3 separate regions of the Homo sapiens genome follow, and regions 2 and 3 are each linked to region 1. The links are contacts of gene promoters, found by promoter capture Hi-C in blood cells and fetal thymus (Javierre and others, 2016). All regions are on one chromosome and are shown on one strand. Each heading gives the region's core, a stretch centred on a gene start or on the middle of the fragment in contact. The rest is flanking DNA. Distances are from core to core; before and after follow the strand shown. Region 1 holds the start of ZFP91 (ZFP91 zinc finger protein, atypical E3 ubiquitin ligase). Region 2 overlaps ZDHHC5 (zDHHC palmitoyltransferase 5). Region 3 overlaps CTNND1 (catenin delta 1).

What was found. Contacts are between HindIII fragments. The CHiCAGO score rates a contact against its expected background, and 5 or more counts as called.
Region 2: a fragment that was not itself captured here is called in contact with the fragment with the promoter of ZFP91 in region 1 in 2 of 17 cell types (naive CD8 T cells and total CD8 T cells); the score reaches 6.2 in naive CD8 T cells.
Region 3: a fragment that was not itself captured here is called in contact with the fragment with the promoter of ZFP91 in region 1 in 1 of 17 cell types (non-activated CD4 T cells); the score reaches 5.6 in non-activated CD4 T cells.

The regions. Positions count from the first base shown.
Region 1 is chr11:58,577,536-58,580,679 of GRCh38, forward strand. ZFP91 (ZFP91 zinc finger protein, atypical E3 ubiquitin ligase) reads left to right here and starts at 1,528. Exons shown (of 11, transcript NM_053023.5): 1 at 1,528-2,087. The coding sequence starts at 1,747. It overlaps ZFP91-CNTF (ZFP91-CNTF readthrough (NMD candidate)), which reads left to right and starts at 1,579. Exons shown (of 13, transcript NR_024091.1): 1 at 1,579-2,087. It also overlaps a transcript of LPXN not described here. RefSeq lists enhancers at 282-361, 382-901, 520-1,212, 932-1,161, 1,906-2,597 and 1 more and a silencer at 1,582-2,001. The HindIII fragment of the contact is 10,569 bases long and covers 1-3,144 here.
Region 2 is chr11:57,680,515-57,683,658 of GRCh38, forward strand. ZDHHC5 (zDHHC palmitoyltransferase 5) reads left to right here. Exons shown (of 12, transcript NM_015457.3): 3 at 1,908-2,029. Among named protein-coding and RNA genes, the nearest start is that of ZDHHC5, 14 kb to the left of the region's middle. The HindIII fragment of the contact is 2,243 bases long and covers 349-2,591 here.
Region 3 is chr11:57,801,514-57,804,657 of GRCh38, forward strand. It overlaps CTNND1 (catenin delta 1), which reads left to right. Exons shown (of 21, transcript NM_001085458.2): 7 at 220-683; 8 at 2,108-2,291. It overlaps TMX2-CTNND1 (TMX2-CTNND1 readthrough (NMD candidate)), which reads left to right. Exons shown (of 21, transcript NR_037646.1): 8 at 220-683; 9 at 2,108-2,291. Among named protein-coding and RNA genes, the nearest start is that of CTNND1, 41 kb to the left of the region's middle. The HindIII fragment of the contact is 801 bases long and covers 1,172-1,972 here.

The DNA of each region.
Region 1 (3,144 bases), core at 278-2,777:
AAATCGTTCCTTGATTGTAATGGATGAAAAGAAAAAAGAAATGGGAGAGGCCCACTGCATCACCAACTGCAACGGAAATTCCCTTTGATGAATCAGGAAGACAAATTAATGTCATACGCTAGCGTGCAGAAAAGTAACCTCTGATAAAGTTGCTATTGTATAAACCGCAGAAGCAGATGGCTTCCGGCCGCAGAGCTTAAGAGACCCTTCAGCTTCTCGGTGTAGGTCACCAGTCATGTCACGCTCACAACCCTTTCGCCTCCCTCTAGGTCAGGCACCGCATCCAAGTTAAGCAACCGACGCCGGCTCCTTGGTGTCCCAACAAGGTCTAGTAGAAAAGCAACTTTATAATTCGTTTCACAGATTTGATTAAGAGCCAACTGAGTAGTGGGCCTTGTGCTAGGGCTCCGAGGGCCCAAGGACCCCATGGAACCAGATTTAGTCGCTGACCTCTAGGAGCTCACAGGTGAGTGACTCACACACCGGAAGACGAGATCAATAATGTAGACATGAACGCTGGCTAGCCAGTCCCAGAGGAGGTGTCATCTGACCAAACCAAGGCAAGTCTGGGCAGTTACGCAGACACCCCGAGAAAGGTACGCCAACGCCCAGATAAAAAGTAAGAAAAAGTAGGAAAAACCCTCCCATCAGACCAGCAATTGGCTCGACGCTTGAGCCCGGATGTACGGCACGCGTCGCGACCTAACCCGGAAACACTGCCTCCCGAAAAAAAGGTAAACTCTAGACTGCGGAAAGTAAACTACCTTTCCCGTCGTGACTCAGTTAGAACCTCCCGGCATCCTCTCCACCTCTGGTTTCCCATCTATTTTTCCTAAAGCCTAGGCGAAATAAGACTTCATCTCCCAGAATGCCCTTGGTTAAGTTAACGGTGCGCATGCGCCAAGAGGCGGGCCCTCGTTGCCCCCACAACCCCGCCTCCGTTTTGCCGCCGCCATTTTTTCAGAGACTTTCATCCGGCAACCGACGGGGCTTTTTTTCTTAAAGGAGAAGCGACAGCTCAAAATACTACCCCCTTCTCCGCGCAAGATCTGGCGGCGCTGGGGACAGAAAGGCCAAAGACAGGAAAGTGGGGTAGGGTGGAGGCGGAAGAACGCCCAGGCTACTTCTGCGGCCTAAAGAAGAATAGAAAGAGCCCTTGTGGTATCAGTGGCTCCTCAGGGAGGCAGGTGCGCGCGCAGCCAGTCTAGGGTTTGCGTGAGGCGGGGAAAGAGGTGCGATTTCTTCTCACCCGCCTCCCTCGCGAGACCTGCCCCTCGCACTGCCCCTAGCGCGCGTTGAAGTCTGGAGGGGGGAAAAAGGTCACTTTGGGATTGTCGCGAGACACAGCCGTTTAACGGTGAGAACGGGTGCGCGGGGAAGGAAACCTCGCGCGCTCCCCTTTTAGCCGTTTCCTGATTGGCTGAAGGAAGGGGTGGGGGAGGGAACCTGGGGCGCCGCTGCGTGTAAGACTGCGAGGGGCGGGGTGAGGAGGCTTGTCCTCTTTTCCGATTGGCCCGCTGAGCGTCTGTGGCGCGCGCGCGCGCGCCGCCAGCGGTAGCGGACCTTGAGTGGCAGGGGGTGGGGGGGGCGCCCTCGGAGCCGGGCGGAGGGGAGGGGGGAAAGAGGAGCGCAGGGTGAGAGTGAGCCGCAGGCTTCGGGAGGCGAGGGGGCGGGGGGAGCAGCGCCGAGGCCGCCGCCTCCGCCTCCGCCGCCTAGGACTAGGGGGTGGGGGACGGACAAGCCCCGATGCCGGGGGAGACGGAAGAGCCGAGACCCCCGGAGCAGCAGGACCAGGAAGGGGGAGAGGCGGCCAAGGCGGCTCCGGAGGAGCCCCAACAACGGCCCCCTGAGGCGGTCGCGGCGGCGCCTGCAGGGACCACTAGCAGCCGCGTGCTGAGGGGAGGTCGGGACCGAGGCCGGGCCGCTGCGGCCGCCGCCGCCGCAGCTGTGTCCCGCCGGAGGAAGGCCGAGTATCCCCGCCGGCGGAGGAGCAGCCCCAGCGCCAGGCCTCCCGACGTCCCCGGGCAGCAGCCCCAGGCCGCGAAGTCCCCGTCTCCAGTTCAGGGCAAGAAGAGTCCGCGACTCCTGTGAGTAACAGTCTTTCAGGCGGTGGGAAAGACCCCCCTCTGTCCGTACGCAACCCTCTCGGCTCCCGTAGCGCCTACTCCACGTGACATCCTGCCTGGTCTGCCCCCTGCCGGCTCCGCACGCCAGATGTCACACCGTTTCCCCGGGAGCCTTCGTGCCTCCTCTCTGCGCCACCCTCATCTCGCTCCTGTACCTTCGCTTGTCGGGCCGTTTCCCCACTCCCCGAAATCATCTTTTGATACACCCCTGCACTCGCTAGTGATCCACCTCCTCCCTGACACCCGCAGGCTCATCCCTCTTTCTGGCATCCGCACCCCCTTTGTCACCCTATCCCTTTCCTTTAGGCGGCTCTCCAGTATTACATCACATGCCCTTTAGGGAATACACAGCCCGATCATAGCCTTCAAAAATGATTCCCCCCCGCCTTCGCGTTAGCTCAAGAGCCAGATGTACTAGTGTGTTTATGTAGCTTTTTTTTTTTTTCACTTTTCTAAATTTTTCGCAACCCTTCTCATTCTTTTGAGAAATTTGCCACTTATTATGGTCAGGTTAAAAGCCCACTGCTACGATTTTAAGTATGGAGTCTTTCATATAAAATTATATGAGCATTCTTTAATGTTTGTTTTTACTAAGTAGCATATGTTTTATCTTTGTGTTTCGTGTTTTTAAATGTAGGAACTTCATCCTTGAAATTAGAATCATCTGAGAGGAATTCCTTTATTACCTAGACGTAATAGAGGAAACATGAACAGGTGGCCAGGAGCATTGTCTTAAATTGTTCGTTAAAATAATACTCATGTTAAGAATACTGAAGCACACAAGTTTGTAAATTCTAGAAATTAATCACATTGACTATTCAATTCATGACTGAAAACATCATTAGTGACCTTTGATTTTTGAGTGAAAACAGATTAGTAAAAACAGAGAAAATTGAAGTGAGGGGGAGTCAGTTTTAAGTGTTCCCTTTCTTCCAGTAGAGATAGTGGCAAGGTTTGACTTACACCAGACCTAATAGATTTAAAACTTGAAACAGACTTGGTCCAAAATTAAGAGTTA
Region 2 (3,144 bases), core at 220-2,719, 900 kb before region 1:
GCCACAGTGGCCAGTTGTAGGAATGAGACTTTTAAATCATGGGCACCTCAGTGTTCTAAGGATTTAATTTCTTTTTCCCTTCTAATTATCTTCCCAGGCTGTAGGAGTCAAGTGAGTCACCCTTTCTCTTCTTCCCCAGGCGGAAATTGAAGTGACAACTTAGTACTAGGGAGGGGCTCTGACCTGGATGACTGGTTTTCAGTTTCTCTCCCTCCTTCTTAAGGAACCTAGGAGGTCAGGCTTTGGGGTGAGGCGGTGCAGGAACTCTTCTTTTTGCTTATATTCCACTCCAAACCCTGCCAATGTATGGAGACATCTTTTCTGAACCAAAGAACTCACAGAGGAAGAAGCTTCCATGGGGGGCTTTCTTTGAGGATAGTATAGAACTATGACTGAAGGTCTGTTTAGTCCCTAAAATTGATGCCCTTGCTCCAGCTTCGTTATTTTGTCTGCTAATTGTGTACTGACATATCAAGAGAACCAAACAGCTAATGGATATTTACTATCTAAAAAGCCTGGCATATAATAAATACTAAAAACTTTTCAAAATGAATGGCTGAATGGAATTTGAATAAATAGATGGTGGTGGTAAAGATTTGTGAGATGCTTTGTGACAGTTTTGTCTCTTATCTTGATTTGCTTGTATCTCGTTAAGGAACTGAGTTCCTCCAAACTGCTCTGAGTCAGTCTCAGGGCTGTGCTTTTTGTTTTGGTGGGTGCAGATACCTTTTCTTCACAGAATCCCAGACTGCTGTGGTTTAATTCTCTGGAATCATATGCTGTCTTGTTCTCCTGTCCTCTTCTTCCTTTCCTTCAGTGAGTTCTTCCTTTGCTTTGACTGGTTCAGATAAAGGGGACAAGGACAGATGCTGTCCTCATTCTGGAGATTAAGTTCTCAGCCACAAAGTAGATTAGAGTATTTATCCACTGTCTTGGTAGTGGGAACTTCTCCCTGAGCTGAGACGAGAGTGTTTGATACTACTGACAAAAAAGTAGCACATCAGGTTCTTCCAAAACTTCCAGCTCCCAGGAAATCAGCAGAGAAAGGAAGAGCTCTTGAAGCATTCCTACGTAGATTCAAATCCTGAAAGAAACTGAGTTTAATTCTGGACTAGAGAATTGTTTTTTTGATCAAGAAAAGTTACCTTAAAGCATATCTTGAGTTGACTGCTGTGGAATACTGGGTATGTTTGGGTAGTTTCTTTTTCCTACAAAATTGAGGGCTTCTTTGGTCTGATAGTCTCTATCCTCCCCCATTCCTGCTTCATTTTTAGACATCAAAGGGTTTACTTCTGTGTCTTGATATCCATTCTCATCTGTGTGTTTTAAAAGAATTTCCCAACCTTAAGAACTGGCCTGTAGTTGAGTAAACTCTCAGGCATATCCAATGCAATGGAGATACTTTAGGCACTTATGTGGTTCAGTCCCCTGGCAAGGGGGAGGCGGGGGCTAGAAAGGTAGGTGGTATCCCATGCTTTGGGCCAATGTGCAGGTCAATGGGACATAGCTGGGATCCAGAAACCTCAGGCTGCTCCAGAGAAGGGAGTGTAGCTGATATCATAGTCAGTACCTGGTTCTCATGTCTGGTTAGAAAGGAGATAAGGACAGATCTCAAAACATGTGGCAAGATCCACAGGGTAGGAATGAATCTGAAGCACAAAGACCTTAGTGCAACAGGTTAAGATGGGAGAGATTCTGAGTCTTGTACTTTTATCTAAAGTGAGCAGTTCCCATAGGAAACTAGACTCACTTAGTGGGAAAGATAAAGATAATAATTTGGGATGGCAAAGGTAAACCACACAAGATTTATCTATAGGTAAGGGGCTAAGTCTTTACAGATTTTTGTATGTATGGTTCGTGTCCAAAATATTAGAGGCAACCCCTCATTTTCTTTATTGTCTGTGCAGGTGTCCAGGACTAAGCCTGTATGTGTCACCTGCAGTGCCCATCTACAATGCAATTATGTTTCTCTTTGTGTTGGCCAACTTCAGCATGGCCACCTTCATGGACCCAGGGATTTTCCCTCGAGGTAAGATCTGCTTCTCTCTTAGAAGCACCTTACACTGCCTTTGAAAAATAATGAGTTGGCCATACACAGTTGATCTTGGGCCTTAAGAGTCCTGGGATTTTGGGATATGAAAAATAATGATTTGGGCATACGCAGTTGATCTTGGGCCTTAAAGTCCGGGGATTTTGGGATACTTTTATCATTTTCTGATGATGAAAATCAGGTCAGGGTCTTTAGGAATATATGTCATAACTTCTAGTCCTATGATTCACTTTGGGTCAAATCTTTGAGTTTTAGTGATTTGTTCAGCAGAAATTTATTTAAAGCATATGGGTTGGATGCTATTTTTAGGTACAGTAATACCCACAGTGAATTAAGACAGTTATGACAGTGTGATGCAGACTATAATGGAGGCAAGAGCAAGGTTCTGTGAGAATACAAACAATTGAGAACAAAGAAATATGAGAACATATTTTGCCCAAATAAATTGGGGAAATGCTGCTGAAAATAGGTGGGAAAGACTTTACCAAGTAGAATATAGGAGGGAAGGGCATTTTTAGGCAGAGGAAACAGCACATGCAGAAGCTTGTAGCCATGAAATGGCAAACTTAGTGGGGCTAGAGGATGTTATGCATGGTGTGACCAGAGGGATGGGAGGTAAACCCAGAGCCAAATTGTCAAGGACTTTACATACTAAGTTAAATAGATCATACATTTTCCTTTGGATAGGAAGAGGTCTTTAATTGGAGGACTCAACATCAGAATTCCTTTTAGAAAAATAATTCGTGTAAGAATTACAGCTACCTTTTGGGAGGCTGTGGAAATAAACCAGATGAGAACTTGAATTCAAGGCTGGATTTACAGATTTTTTAGTAGTAGACTCAATAATTTTTCATGACTTTTCATGATTTTATTGGGCAAGAGAGAGAAAGTGGAGGAATTATCTAGAGTAGTTTCAAGGTTCATAACTGGGAGATAAGTTGGATACTGATTTTTATAAACCTGAATATGAGATACAAGAATGTCAAACGGGTTTGGAGGGAAGACAGAAAATAAATACTCTTAGACATGTTGAATTTGATATACTTGAATCAGTCAGATAGTTACCCAGTGGGCAATTGAATAGTCAGTGTTGA
Region 3 (3,144 bases), core at 322-2,821, 780 kb before region 1:
AGTTTTAATTAAATTGCAGGTGTTTTTAAAATTATTACCTTTTATTTTTACTAACCCATTGAGGAAAATTGATCAGTATATTATTCATGCAAAGGAGAGATAAGATGAGCACACTGAAACTCCAGTTAATCCTCCTTTGCAGATGAGGGTAATGGGAATGTCCAGGAAGCTAGCCATAATGACTTGATGTATTCTCTTGGTTCTTCCAAAACTTCTCAGGAGCTATGAAGACATGATTGGTGAGGAGGTGCCATCGGATCAATACTACTGGGCTCCTTTGGCCCAGCATGAGCGAGGAAGTTTAGCAAGCTTGGATAGCCTGCGCAAAGGAGGGCCTCCACCTCCTAATTGGAGACAGCCAGAGCTGCCAGAGGTGATCGCCATGCTTGGATTCCGCTTGGATGCTGTCAAGTCCAATGCAGCTGCATACCTGCAACACTTATGCTACCGCAATGACAAGGTGAAGACTGACGTGCGGAAGCTCAAGGGCATCCCAGTACTGGTGGGATTGTTAGACCATCCCAAAAAGGAAGTGCACCTTGGAGCCTGTGGAGCTCTCAAGAATATCTCTTTTGGACGTGACCAGGATAACAAGATTGCCATAAAAAACTGTGATGGTGTGCCTGCCCTTGTGCGATTGCTTCGAAAGGCTCGTGATATGGACCTTACTGAAGTTATTACCGGTGAGTTCTAGGCCTAAGGAAAATTGCTAAGTCAGTGTTACTCTCTAGTGATGTTGAGAACTAGAGGGATTTCCAGACCTTTTACTTTTGATGAAAGGTTGTGAACTGGTGGCTGTGGGTCAAATCCATCTCACAGATTTGTTTGGATCACACAGCATTATTGAAATTTTAAAGAACTGGTTGCTGATGTTTAAAATTCAGAAGATTTCACTTAAAATTCCAGATTCTTGGCTTCTATTAAAAACGTGGAAGAGTTGTTAACAATGGATCTCTTTTCTTCCTTAGCAGTATTTGGTCTGAACTGATTGGAGCATGTGCTCTCTAATTTACACTAATCTCCAACACATTCTATTATCTGACCAACTACAGCTGTTTAGGAAGTTGTTTCCCAAACATGGAGCTGTCAACTGCTATTTTTTCACATGCTTGTAATTTCTTTTAATTATCTTCCTCTCTTGACTCACCGGCTTGACCCATATAGACATTTAAGCTTGTGGTTCTTGCTTTATTTAGAGCAGTAGTTTTTCAGATTGTGGGTTGTGATCTATTTGTGTGATCCGTTAGTGAATAAAACAAAATTTTGTGGAGCATAATCAGCATTCCAAGGGAAAGGAATAAAGAAAAAGTAGTATAGACCATTGTTTCTCAGTTGTGGGCCATTTTGCCTGCCCTGCCCTGAGGACATTTGGACATTTGCAGTGTTGGAGATATTTTTGGTTGTTATAACTTGGAACAGGGGAGAGGGAGTGCTACTGGCATCTAGTGAGTAAAGGCCAGGGGTACTGGTAAACATCCAACAATAGACAAGACAGCTCCTCATAACAAAGAATCATCTGGCCGAAAATGTCAGTGGTGCTGAGGTTGAAAAACTCTGGTATAGACAGATCGGAGAGCATTGAGCATTGCTTATAGTTTTGTTTGTTTTTTTTGAGATGGAGTCTCGCTCTGTCACCCAGGCTGGAGTGCAGTGGCACAATCTCAGCTCACCGCAAGCTCCGCCTCATGGGTTCACGCCATTCTCCTGCCTCAGCCTCCCAAGTAGCTGGGACTACAGGTGCCCGCCACCACGCCCGGCTAATTTTTTGTATTTTTAGTGTTAGCCAGGATGGTCTTGATCTCCCAACCTTGTGATCCGCCCGCCTTGGCCTCCCAAATTGCTGGGATTACAGGCGTGAGCCACCACACCCAGCCTGAGCGTTGCTTATAGTTAAACATTGTTTGTTTCATGATCTGTATGTTTATTTTGAGCTATAATGTAGAATATGTTTCTTGGTGAGGGTCGCAAACAAAGCTTGAATATTACTATAAGGTATTTGGTCACTGGGGAAGACTGAGAAGTGATACGATAGGGGGATTCTCTTTGACGTTCTTCAGACATATTGTCTTGAATGCTCAAGAGCCATCTGATGAATTGTCTCTTCCAGGAACCCTGTGGAATCTTTCATCCCATGACTCAATCAAAATGGAGATTGTGGACCATGCACTGCATGCCTTGACAGATGAAGTGATCATTCCTCATTCTGGTTGGGAGCGGGAACCTAATGAAGACTGTAAGCCACGCCACATTGAGTGGGAATCGGTGCTCACCAACACAGCTGGCTGCCTTAGGTAACAGTAGGGACTTTGAGAATATGAAGATGAATTTTTGAGGACTGACTTAAATTTCCTAAAAAAAAAAAAAAATTAAAATTCTTTAGCCTATTCTTTAGCCTCCATTCCTATCTGTATTGCATACTGTAACTCCAACCTTTCTATCTTTGTTGCTATTCTCTCATGTATACCACATGTACCTATATCAGTTTTCTTGCTGTTCCCCACACATCCTCTTCACTTTTATGCCTCTTTGACTTTGTTCATCTACTTTGGTAAGCTTTTGTTCAGCATCTACCACATGTAAGGTGGTCTAGTCCTGGACTTGTGTGTGTCTATGTCCTTGCCCTAGTTATTTGTATTTCAAGTCAGGCTGTGATAAATTCAGCAAAAGGGGTACAGAGTACTAGGAGGTTAGGGCATGGGTGAGGAAGGTCTGTTCTTTCTGTGATGCCTTTCTCTTCTTATTTATCTTTTTGTGGTTAAACTCAAGTGCCTTTATTTTATTAAAGTTTTCCTGAATTCTTTTTATATCCTATAAATGCTGCTATATAATCTTTCTCTCTTTGGAATACACCTCTGTGTGCTGTGTTCCATTCTACATATGTATTATATACTTCCATACGAGAAGTATATATTCCATCTTGAATTACTGCATCTGGTACATATCATTAATCCCTACCCCACAGTGATATAAACATTCAGAAGGCAGGGACTGTTAATCAACTTTCTCTCAACTGCAGTACCTTGCTTATAATAGGTATTTACTATTACAGTGAGTAGAAAAACATATTCAGGAATCTTGTAGGTGTTGAGGGATATTTAAGGGAGGATTTCTGGATTTGAGTCATCTTGAAGCTTCTGGTTTCCC